Linked DNA regions of Homo sapiens: all the other regions are linked to region 1. Evidence: promoter capture Hi-C in human tissues and cell types (Jung and others, 2019). All regions are on one chromosome and are shown on one strand. The core of a region is centred on a gene start or on the middle of the fragment in contact, and the rest is flanking DNA. Distances in the headings are between cores, read along the strand shown. Region 1 holds the start of METTL2B (methyltransferase 2B, tRNA N3-cytidine). Region 2 holds the start of GARIN1B (golgi associated RAB2 interactor 1B). Region 3 overlaps RBM28 (RNA binding motif protein 28).

Region 1 (3,659 bases), core at 475-2,974:
TGAGACCATCCTGGCCAGCATGGTGAAACCCCATCTGTACCAAAATACAAAAAATTAGCCAGGCATGGTGGTGCACACCTGTAGTCCCAGCTACTCGGGAGGCTGAGGCAGGGGAATCGCTTCAACCAGGGAGGAGGAGATTGCAGTGAGCTGAGATCGCGCCACTGCACTCCAGCCTGGTGACAGAGCGAGACTCCGCCTCCAAAAAAAAAAAAAAAAGTATGGACAGTTTAAATGAAGGCTGTTTTTAAGGTGATCATGACAGTCCCAGATTTCAGTTTACTGCTCTTGCCAGTTCAGGGGGCCTTGACTAGTGTAGTAGAAAGAATAAAAACCTAACAAATTGAGCAGGACGGTGACAATGGAAGTTGGAATCCACTAAGAAGTGTGTTAACAACTCACAACTCACCTGCTGAATCAACCAAGACTCCCTAAGAAACAGGATTTTAGTTCCACTACTGCTACTACTGACTGCTTACCTCTGGGAAAAGCACTTAATGTCCTGTGGTCCAAGTGTCTTTAACTATAAAAAGAGAATATTGAACCACATGATTTTCAAAATCCCTTTTAACTATTAACTTGCTTTGATCTAGTTGCTGTCAGACTATGCAGGGTGAATGTTTTGTAACTGGAACCTTTTTGTTGTACAGAACTCTTTCAGCAGGTACTAAATTTGTAGTGCTATCTTCAATTGTCTGGAACAATCAGTCCTAGTTTTACTATCTAGGGATATTTTGCAGTGAAATCATCAACCTCTCAAGCAGGGGCCTCCTTTTCTTTGGCCAGACTTATCTCCACTCTGCTGCATCCACCTTTCCTTGACTGAAGCCCTAAATTCTCATAACCATCACACAAGTAATAGACACACAGTCACCAGTCATTAGCCCCCCTCCCAACAATATTTAGAATCTAATCACTTAAATGAAGCTTCAATGGAAACATCTCCTCATGGAAAATGCAAATCATGTAAAAAGTACAGGTTCTAAGATGATCGCGTGACCACACAGTTGTCATTGGCTAGCCATATCAACGTGGATCTACTCAACATAATTAAAGACAAAATTACCCTCCTCCAAAGTAAAACTATATATTAAAAAAACCCTCTACGACTTAAGATTTTGTTACAATGCAGCCCTTTTCCCTCCTTGCTCATCCCCTCCCTGTCCTGCTCTACTCCTGAGATCCGCATCAGGCCAGGAATAAAGGATGTGGGCGGCCGCGGTTCCCTGGCCTCTCCGGGAGGGCGCGTTCGGCAGTACGCTGGCTGTTGATACCAACGAGAGCCCATTTAAGCGCACCTTGTTTCTCCTGGCACACCCGCTGGATACTGTTCTCCTGGACTTTTCTCTCCGCCGCCGCGGCTTGCTCTTCCGACCACTCCACATTGTCCCTGAGAAAATCAAACGGGCAGCTTAGGGGCTTCACGTCCTGGCTGCGAGCAGGGTGAGTCGCTGGCCTAGGAGTTTCTCTCCCCTTGGAGAGTGCCTCGGGTAGGGCAGCTTGACTCGTGGCCGGCGGTCAGGGGCTTTTCGGAATGCTCCGAGGCGGCGGGACAGACGGCCAGCGACAGGCCGGGCGAGGGGGCAGGGTGATTACCAGGCATTGTGGTGGAAGACGCGCGCCGGATCGCTCAGGAACCGGCTTCCGAACTGCTGCCTCTTATCGGCGAGGATTGCAGGTGCACCTTCAGGGTAGGAGCCGGCCATGACACCGGAGCCGGAAACACTTCACTTTCCGTAACGCGAGAACTTCCTGCGGGCCACGCCCTCTTTCAGAAGACGTGGAGTCTGGGCGGGAAAAAGGGTGGCGGGACAGGGCGGTCCTGGAGTCTGGTCCGGGTGGCGCTCGGGAGCTGTCGTTTGGGGCTTTCCCAGGGTTGGCGAAGGGCTCTCTAGGGAAGGGGACCAGGCAGGGGGAAATTCTCCCCGGAGGAGTCGTATCTCATTGATGAGGTGCTGATGGACGTGCAGGTTAGGCAGAAAGTGGGAGACATTCCACTTGAGGCCCAGTTCATTGCTGGGATCCTCTTAACAGGTTCCCCAGCTTCCCTCAAGTTGTAAAACAGGAATAATCTTGAATCATTATAAGAGTTGAGGCTACCTAGTTCCACTGCGGAGCCGATGTCCAGAACTGAAGAAGGTAGCAAGCAGCGGAAAGAAACAGGGCAATTTCCAGCTTCTATAGTCAGCTCTTCATAGTGTGGGTGTATATGTATACACAGTGTGTATATATATTTTGGTTGGGGTGGGGGAGATGGATATATGAAATTAGAGAACACGAGGCTTAGCAAATCAAATGGAATATCCAAGGACAATTTTTTTTTAATTATAACCATCTAACCTTTTTGAATCATCCATATTATATTTATTATAATTATCCTTATTAGCACAATTAAGATTGTAATACACACATACAGTTTGTCATAGTAATACATTTCAGCCTTACATTTCTATTTCTAGATCTAATACAAATAGACTCTCAAAAGAATCTAGAAGAAAGTATGTTATAGACATAAGGTTATTTGAGAAGACTTCCAAGAGAAGCATGATGAATACCACTTGGAAAAGAAGGAAAGGGCAGAGACCAAACAAGGACCAGCCCAATATCTCTTGGACTTTATTTAATGTCATAATGTCAGAATAAAGGGAAAGATGAATTTTTTTAAAAAAGGAAAGGGTTAGTGCAGTGCTAGACATAGCACATTGGTAATTAGTACTTTTTTTTTTTTTTTTTTGAGACGGAGTCTTGCTCTGTTTCCCAGGCTGGAGTGCAGTAGCTGGATCTCAGCTCGTTATAACCTCCATGTCCTGGGCTCAGGTGATTCTCCTGCCTCAGCCTCCTGAGTAGCCGGGATTACAGGTGCGCGCTACCACACTCGGCTAATTTTTGTATTTTTAGTAGAGATGGGGTTTCACCATGTTGCCTGGGCTGGTCCTGAACTCCTGACCTCAAATGATCTGCCCACCTCGGTCTCCCAAAGTGTTGGGATTACAGGTGTGAGCCACCGTGCCCAGCCAGTAATTGTTTATTCCATTGTAAATTCTTTCTGTAGGTAAAACTACAGGGAGCAATGAATGATTCTATACTTTTCCTCCAAAGAAATGGGAACAAGCTCTAAGCCTCTCTAATCAGGAAGAAAAATACACAAGTTAATCAAAAAGATAGTAAAGAAGTTGTACTTCATTTGAAGACAATATGCTTTTGCCATTCTTGTGGTCTTTGGAAACATTTTGAACACAAGCTCCATACCCAGAAACAAGTACAAGGAATTTTTATCTTTTCTCAAGGCCAGCTGTTTGCAGATATGGTGGTTGATTTACATTTATTTCTGGCATCTTGTTTTCTCATCTGTGGGCTTTTATTCTCCCCTCACTAAAAGCTGTTAGTGTTCCCAATCAACAGTCCCACTGGATATTTTCTTGCAGACAGCTCATTGTCTTCACTTGAATTTACTATATTAGTTCCAATGGAGACATTTTAAATGTCAAACAGCTTTGGCCTTTTTTCTATGAAATGTGCTAAAGTATCCTAAACTTAATTTTATTTTTTATTTTTATTTATTTATTTATTTATTTATTTTTGAGACGGAGTCTCGCACTGTCTCCCAGGCTGGAGTGTAGTGGCGTGATCTCGGCTCACTGCAAGCTCCCTACTTCCCG
Region 2 (3,659 bases), core at 680-3,179, 240 kb before region 1:
ACTGCAACCTCCGCCTCCTAGGTTCAAGCGATTCTCCTGCCCTAGCCTCCTCAGTAGCTGGGATTACAGGCATGTGCCACCAGGCCCGTCTAATTTTTTATTTTTGGTAGAGACGAGGTTTCATCATGTTGGTCAGGCTGGTCTCGAACTCCTGACCTTAGGCGATCCACCTGCCTCTGCCTCCCAAAGTGCTGGGATTACAGGCACGAGCCACCGCGCCCAGCCAAAATTTCTTTCTTGAAAGCACCAAAGGAGCTTGCCCCACTGTCTGGCTTGTGCATTTATTGAGTTTAATGCCACAGTTAGTCTTCCCAAGGGAGTTAAAGTTCAAGGATCTGGCTTTGGATCTAATATTAGTCAGCTGGGACTGGGTGGTACTTGCTAGAGGTACACCAAGAACATCATGGAGAGGTGTGTCACTGAGGTAGCATGGAGAAATGAAGGGTTTTCTTGGACTTTTGGGAATTTCTAGAGATTCTTGAGATATCCTACAGATTATTTAAAGAGGCCCCAAAATTTAAAAAGGCTACTTCGTCCCAGACAAGCATGATGTCACTATATGCTACAGCTCTAAGTGAGACTTAGTCCCATTTATTTTACTGATTAAAAAAAAAAAACAAAAAAAACCTGGCCGGGCACAGTGGCTCACGCCCGTAATCCCAGCACTTTGGGAGGCTGAGGAGGGTGGGTCACCTGAGGTCAGGAGTTCAAGACCAGCCTGGCCAACATGGTGAAACCCTGTCTCTATTAAAAATACAAAAATTATCCAGGTGTGGTGGCAGGCACCTATAATCCCAGCTACTCGGGAGGCTGAGGCAGGAGAATCACTTAAACCTGTGAGGCAGAGGTTGCAGTGAGCCAAGATCCCACCATTGTACTCCAGCCTGGGCGATAGTCTTTTTTGAGACTCAGTCTCAAAAAAAAAAAAAAAGAAAGAAAGAAAAAGAAAAAGACAAAGAAAACTGAGGAGCAGCAAATAACTTGTGATTTTAAAAATTGAGTCCAGTTAGTTGTACACCAAGAACTAGAAATAATCTCCTTTCCCCAACCAGTGCTCCATCTGCCAGACTCACTGCCTCCTTGCCCTTGGGCCCAATGCTGAGAGATTTCCTATGAATTCAGTGGCGTCTGTGCAGCGAGAAAGAAAGTGGGCAGGTAGACTAGCCCCTGACTCCTGTCCACATGACATCTCCCTTTGTCCCACTTGGCCTCTGTCCTTCCAGTGCAACACCTGTCTTAGGATACTCTGTTGTCTAAAAAAATCAATGTCACTGCTGATGACATCTCTATCTTCTCCTTGAGTTTAGTAGTCAAGCAACCTCCACTTTGCATCCACCCCTCACCCCTCTTGTCCTCCATTCTCATCTGCATTGCTCACCTCTTCAGGAAGATGTTGGGGGCTATGGATGGTCTGTTCCATGTCTGGTTCTGCCCCTGGTGCCATTTGACACTGGCCATGAGTAGGATGTTGGGGAGGGGCAGGCAGGGTACCGAGGAGGTCACCCCCAGGGCCATGGTGTTGGAAGCTTTGTAGACGTCTCTCCAATTCCTGCCCCTTTTGACCTGCAACACAGCCCCCAGGCACAACCTGAGCATTTGGCAAAAGCTGCAGTCTGTTTCAGCCCAGGGTTTCTCAACCTCGACACTATTAATGTTTTGGGTTGGATATTCTTTGTTGAGGGTAGGATACTGCCCTGCACACTAAAGAATGCTTAGTAGCATCCTTGACCTCTACCTACTAGTTCTAGTAGCACTACCAGCCAAATCGTGACAATAAAAAATGTCTCCAGACATCGTCAAATGTTCCCTGGCAGTTGGGGCCAAAAATCAATTCTTGTTGATAGCCACTATATTGATTAAACAACTACTAGTATTTAAACAATATTTCAACCACCCATTTGTTAACAATTGCCCACAGGAATTACAACCCAGGAGTTCCCTGCCATCTGTCATTTCTGCCAATCCTCCCTGGACTGTTTCCTGGCCTTCTTTGAAAAATGTATCCTCTTGGTCCTTCCCCGAGGTGCCCTATTATCTCCTGCACCTTCACTGAACAGGAAGGTCCTCTCTAACTCCAAAGTGCTGTTCATTCTCGCTTCCATCCAACCAGAGGAGAGCCCAGGCAAGGAGACGAACGTGCACCGAGTGCCTGTTAGACAAGGTACTTTTCTTGCTGTATTTGCATTTCATCCTCAGGTCAGTTCAACCCTTTTACAATCAAGGGGCCAGATTCAGGCTGCACAGGTTACTTGCACAGTCACCTCCCAAGGAGAAGGCAGAGGACTGGAATCTGAGCCCAGCTGTCTCTGGGACCCCAGGTGCTGTTCTTTCGCCAATCCGCATTATTGTTCTCAAGAAGCGTCTCTTTTTACTGCCTCTTTGTTCATCTACTTCAGGTGACAGCCTGGGGGCTGAAGTAAACTGGGGGATTAGATACCAAATTCTCCACTCAGAGCAGAGGACCCCTGACCTTTCTCCCTGGGTGACAGCTGTCTGTAGGAGAAGCCCCGTCTGGGGCTCAGCAAAGCCCAGGTCAGTGAGGGTGGCCTTGCATTCCAGGTCCACTAGCTTCTCCTTGCCTCAATTCTCACTCTGCCCCAGTTTCAGGGATGGACTCTCTCAGTCATATCTTGGGAACAGGTTTCGAAGAATCAAAGAGTGCTATTCTGCGCCACCCAAGAATACCTGGATGAAGTTGCTTTCAAACACCACGGAGTCAAGAAACAGGTTGAATTCTGGAGAATGAACCACCCGGCAGAGCAGTCCCTCCTCCACACCTAGGCCCGCTCCAGGGTTCGGCTCTCCATCCACAGGCAAGAGGCCCCTGAATTCTTCCCAGGCATTCAGGGAAGGGAAGGTTGGATAGGATCTTGTGACTTTTACTGTCTTCTTTGATTTCCTCCAAGTCTTTCTATGTGGAAATGATGACAACATTTCTACACATGCTCAGGGGCCTGCTGCACATTTGTCCTGGGATCTCTGTCTCCCCTCCTGGCCTTGGGCAGCTGGCCAAGCCCTGGGACCACCAGTCAGCTCACAATGATGAATGGATGACATCATGAAAAACCAGGACAGACCTGCAGGAAGGGGAAGTGCAAAGGAGCCTCCCTTTTCCTCCAGAGAGCTTGTGTGCCTTATCCGTGCCTGGACATTCCCCAGCCCTTTTCGGAACCCCAGGACATAGTCCTCCCGGAACTTGCTGAGAAAGCAGTGAGCCAGGCAGAAAGCAAGCAAGGAGGGCTGTCAGGAAGATCCTTCCACTGCTAAGAGGAAAATGCCCTTCCTGCCTTTCAACCCTTCCTTACTCTGAATGCAACCTATCTCACACAACTTTAAAAGCTGCATGTCCATTGAAAACCCCATCTTCCTAAGCTTTGCAGCATGTGGGCCCCCGACACCCTGGTGGATCTGCAGGTTATGGAAGCAGTTGCAGGGCAGTTGGTGCCTGCTCTGCATTCTGCCGCGGCAGGCTGGTTACTTCTGCAGGACTTACTTCCCTTAGGAGGTCAAACTGAAGAAGCAGGAGAAGTAATTAGTTTCTTATCCAGAGGCTGGCTTTGTCAGGGCGCTGGCTGGGAGGAATAGAACCCCGATGAGCAGCTCTGCTAGGTCCCAAGCTGTTCCCCCTCTTGGAGAGTGACAGCATCCCTCACCCCTGA
Region 3 (3,659 bases), core at 487-2,986, 140 kb after region 1:
GGAAAAGAGCCATGAATCTAAACATCAGGAATCAGTTAAAAAGAAGGGCAGAGAGGAAGAGGATATGGAAGAGGAAGAAAACGATGATGATGACGATGATGATGATGAAGAAGATGGGGTTTTTGATGATGAAGATGAAGAGGAAGAGAATATAGAATCAAAGGTGACCAAGCCTGTGCAAATTCAGAAGAGGTAAGCAGCTCATCCTGTTCTGAGACAGCAGAGGAAGATTCAAGATTGTCTCCGAGAGGAAAAATTCTCCTTTTTCTGCCTGCATCATTGCAGAATTGACATGTGTAATGAAATTGAATAGGCCCTCTGTCAGCCCACCTCCTTAGTTCTGATCTGTGCCATTGCAGAGCAGTCAAGAGACCAGCCCCTGCAAAAAGCAGTGATCATTCTGAGGAGGACAGTGACCTAGAGGAAAGCGATAGTATTGATGATGGAGAGGAACTGGCTCAGAGTGATACCAGCACTGAGGAGCAAGAGGATAAAGGTTTGTTTGGATTTTCATAAATGTCTTTAGACTTTAAAAAAGTTACTGAAGTTACGGAAATGAGCATCAGTTCTGCTTAGATCTCTTTTTAAATAGGACTCTAAGGTGTTCTATCAAATTTATGTTTAAATGCTGAAAAGGAAACCTTTATACTCCTTTCTTCCAAAGGTTTTTTTGTTGTTTCCTTTTTGTTTGTTTTGTTTTTTAAGTGAGTTTTGGAGTGGTGTTTGAGGGTTAAGATTCTTAGGGAATTGAAAACCTAGCTTAATGCTGAGGTTCTACCTCTCTCTGGATTGTCCAACTTGATAGAATAACCAGGTAAACAGCATCTTATACAGATAATATAGATGAAACAGATGATATAACCATCTCAACATCAAGCTAGATTTTAAACAACTCCTTGGAGTTGAGATGGGGATAAAGAACTGTTTAGTCAGTTTGGACTGACATAACAAAATACCATAAACTGGGTGGCTTAAACAGCAGAAACTTATTTTCTCACAGCTCTAGAGGCTAGAAGTCCCAGGTGCCAGCTGATTCATTTTGGGTGCAGCTCTCTTCCTAGCTTGCAGACTGCTGCCTTCTCGCTATGTGCTTGCATGGCCTTTTCTTTGTGGCTTGACGAGGGGAGAGAGAGAACAAGTAACAGTGAACTCTGGTCTCTCTTTTCTTATAAGCACAGCAATCCTATCAGATTAGGGCCCAACCTTAAGACCTCATTTAGCTAGCCTCAGTTACCTCCCTAAAGTCTCTGTCTCCAAATACAATTATATTTGGGGTTAGGGCTTCAATGTATGAATTTTGGGGGAACACAGTGCGTTCCATAACAAGGACCTCTTTGAACATGTTGTAAAACTTTAGCCAATCCTTATTGCTACCTTTATTGAGAATAAATTCAACTTGTTTATTGAGGAAGGCAGGTCATTACAGAATGAGAAATGGCTAATAACTGGTTCTTTGATTTGTCTGGGTGGAGATTTTTATTTCAGCTGTTTTTATTCTGATTCCATTTCAGTAAGTCTGACATGTTGGTTTGACCATATAAGAAATCTGAGGAAATAAGCTTTTTCTGTGAGGAGAGAATGGTATACACCTTAGAATCAAAGAAGCTTCTACACTGAAGGGACTCTGAGATCCTGTATTCTACAACCCACAGTCAGCTGTCTCATGCCATTCTTTCACCTAAAAAACTTATAGGACAGATAAATGATAATGATAAAAAGTTAAAACACAACACAGAAGAGTGTAATACACAAAGTAGAAGTTTCTCACCAATCCTAACAATTCCCTGAAGTAATCACTGTTGTTTCTTGTGCATCCTTCCAGATATTTTCTTTGTATGTATAAGCTTATATGTCTGTTCTTGAAAACAAACAGTGAGTCTCCCTTATACCCAGATCCTCAGCTTCTTAGGGAACTTCCCCAGAGACAACCAAGGTTATTTGTTTCTTGTGTATCTATAGATATTTTAATACATTTATAAGCAAAATGCACACATATACACACACATATACACATTCAAAATGTAGTGTATTTTATAATTTGTGTGTGATTGTATGTGTATGTTTTTTCCTCAAAGTTTCCTATGTCCTATACAGTATTTCCAGAAAGTTTACACTGTCATAGTAGTATATGGAAATGTCTTTTTCCCATAACCTTACCACATTGGATTCCATCAGTCTTTTTGATTTTGCAATCTGTTGGTGAAAAATAGTATCTCATTTCTTGTGCTATGTTTTCTTTAATTAAGAGTGAGTTTGAACATCTTTTCATATACTTAGCATGTCCTTTGTCTATTTTTATTTTTATTTATTTATTTTTTTTGAGACTTTGTTTCGCTCTTGTCACCGTGGCTGGAGTGCAATGGCTCAATCTTGGCTCACTGCAACCTCCACCTCCCAGGTTCAAGGGATTCTCCTGCCTCAGCCTCCTGAGTAGCTGGGACTATAGGTGCCTGCTACCACGCCTGGCTAATTTTTGTATTTTTAGTAGAGACAGGGTTTTGCCATGTTGGCCAGGCTGGTCTCGAACTCCTGACCTCAGGTGATCAGCCCGCCTGGGCTTTTCAAAGTGGCATGAGCCACTGCGCCAGGCTTATCTTTATGTACTTAAGAAGTTAGCTCTTTGTCATGTGGCTTACACTAATCTCTTTCAGTTTGTTGTTTTTCTTTTTACCTTAGCTGTGCAAGTCTCAAACAAAAAGAAGAGGAAATTACCCTCTGATGTGAATGAAGGGAAAACTGTTTTTATCAGGTATGTCTTTCTGCCTCCAGAATTGCTTTTGCGTGGTCTTCATAGATCTCTCTTCCTTCTTCTTCTCTTTTTGGCACTAGTTCTGTTACCTAGCCCAGAAATTAGATCAAGCACATCTGGTCCCAGGAACATACTAAACAATGAGAAATGTAGGACAATCAGAACTATAACACAGAAGACAGATAGCATGGGTCCTGACATCACGTTTTCATTTAGATTTCATGCTTTGTAATTGGGTTGGCATCATTTGGAAGAAATCAGTTCAACTGTTAGAAACATCTTGCTTCCGGCCTTTGTTTTAGGGGGAGTGCTGGAGAGGATTGACACTGCTTGTCTCAAATGATTTCTGTCTTTATGCCTAACTTATCTTCTGATGCAGTGTCCAGAATAAAGTAAGGCATCTCATCTGTTTCCAGGAAAACTAGGTGGGAGTGGGGGTGGCAATAGGCTTTATTTCGTGTTGCTGTTGTGTTTTAGCTCTACTGACTGCAATAGATTGCTGCTTTTATGAGGTCAGGATGTCTTCAGTATACCTCAGGCCTGCCTTCTAGTCCTTAAGTACCAGTGTACTAGGGTCATTTGCATCCGATTTTAGAGTTATATATTTTATCTTCTTGTACAATCTTTTAGAATTATTTTCTTGGGTGCGGTGGCTCAGGCCTGTAATCTCAGCACCGTGGGAGGCTGAGGCAGATGGATCACTTGAGGGCAATTCGAGACCAGCCTGGCCAACATGGTGAAACCCCATTTTTACTAAAAATACAAAAATTGGCCATGCATGGTGGTGTGTGCCTGTAATCCCAGCTACTCGGGAGGCCTGAGGCACGAGAATCACTTAAAACGCAGAGGTGGAGGTTGCAGTGAGCTGGGATTGTGCCACTGCACTCCAGCCTGGGCGACAGAGCAAGAC

What was found. The method cuts DNA at HindIII sites, captures the fragments that hold promoters and counts their contacts. A contact is called where the count stands out against the background at its distance.
Region 2: a contact is called between a fragment that was not itself captured here and the fragment with the promoter of METTL2B in region 1, in 2 of the 25 tissues and cell types used here (aorta and bladder).
Region 3: a contact is called between a fragment that was not itself captured here and the fragment with the promoter of METTL2B in region 1, in 1 of the 25 tissues and cell types used here (adrenal gland).

The regions. Positions count from the first base shown.
Region 1 is chr7:128,474,813-128,478,471 of GRCh38, reverse strand. METTL2B (methyltransferase 2B, tRNA N3-cytidine) reads right to left here and starts at 1,724. Exons shown (of 9, transcript NM_018396.3): 1 at 1,597-1,724; 2 at 1,299-1,390. The coding sequence starts at 1,706. RefSeq lists enhancers at 1,448-1,617, 1,838-1,887. The HindIII fragment of the contact is 14,580 bases long and covers 1-3,659 here.
Region 2 is chr7:128,714,717-128,718,375 of GRCh38, reverse strand. It overlaps GARIN1B (golgi associated RAB2 interactor 1B), which reads right to left and starts at 2,985. Exons shown (of 7, transcript NM_001282788.3): 1 at 2,686-2,985; 2 at 1,379-1,563. The coding sequence starts at 2,934. The HindIII fragment of the contact is 6,852 bases long and covers 1-3,659 here.
Region 3 is chr7:128,332,380-128,336,038 of GRCh38, reverse strand. RBM28 (RNA binding motif protein 28) reads left to right here. Exons shown (of 19, transcript NM_018077.3): 7 at 1-192; 8 at 360-496; 9 at 2,677-2,749. Among named protein-coding and RNA genes, the nearest start is that of RBM28, 9.7 kb to the left of the region's middle. The HindIII fragment of the contact is 4,118 bases long and covers 1-3,659 here.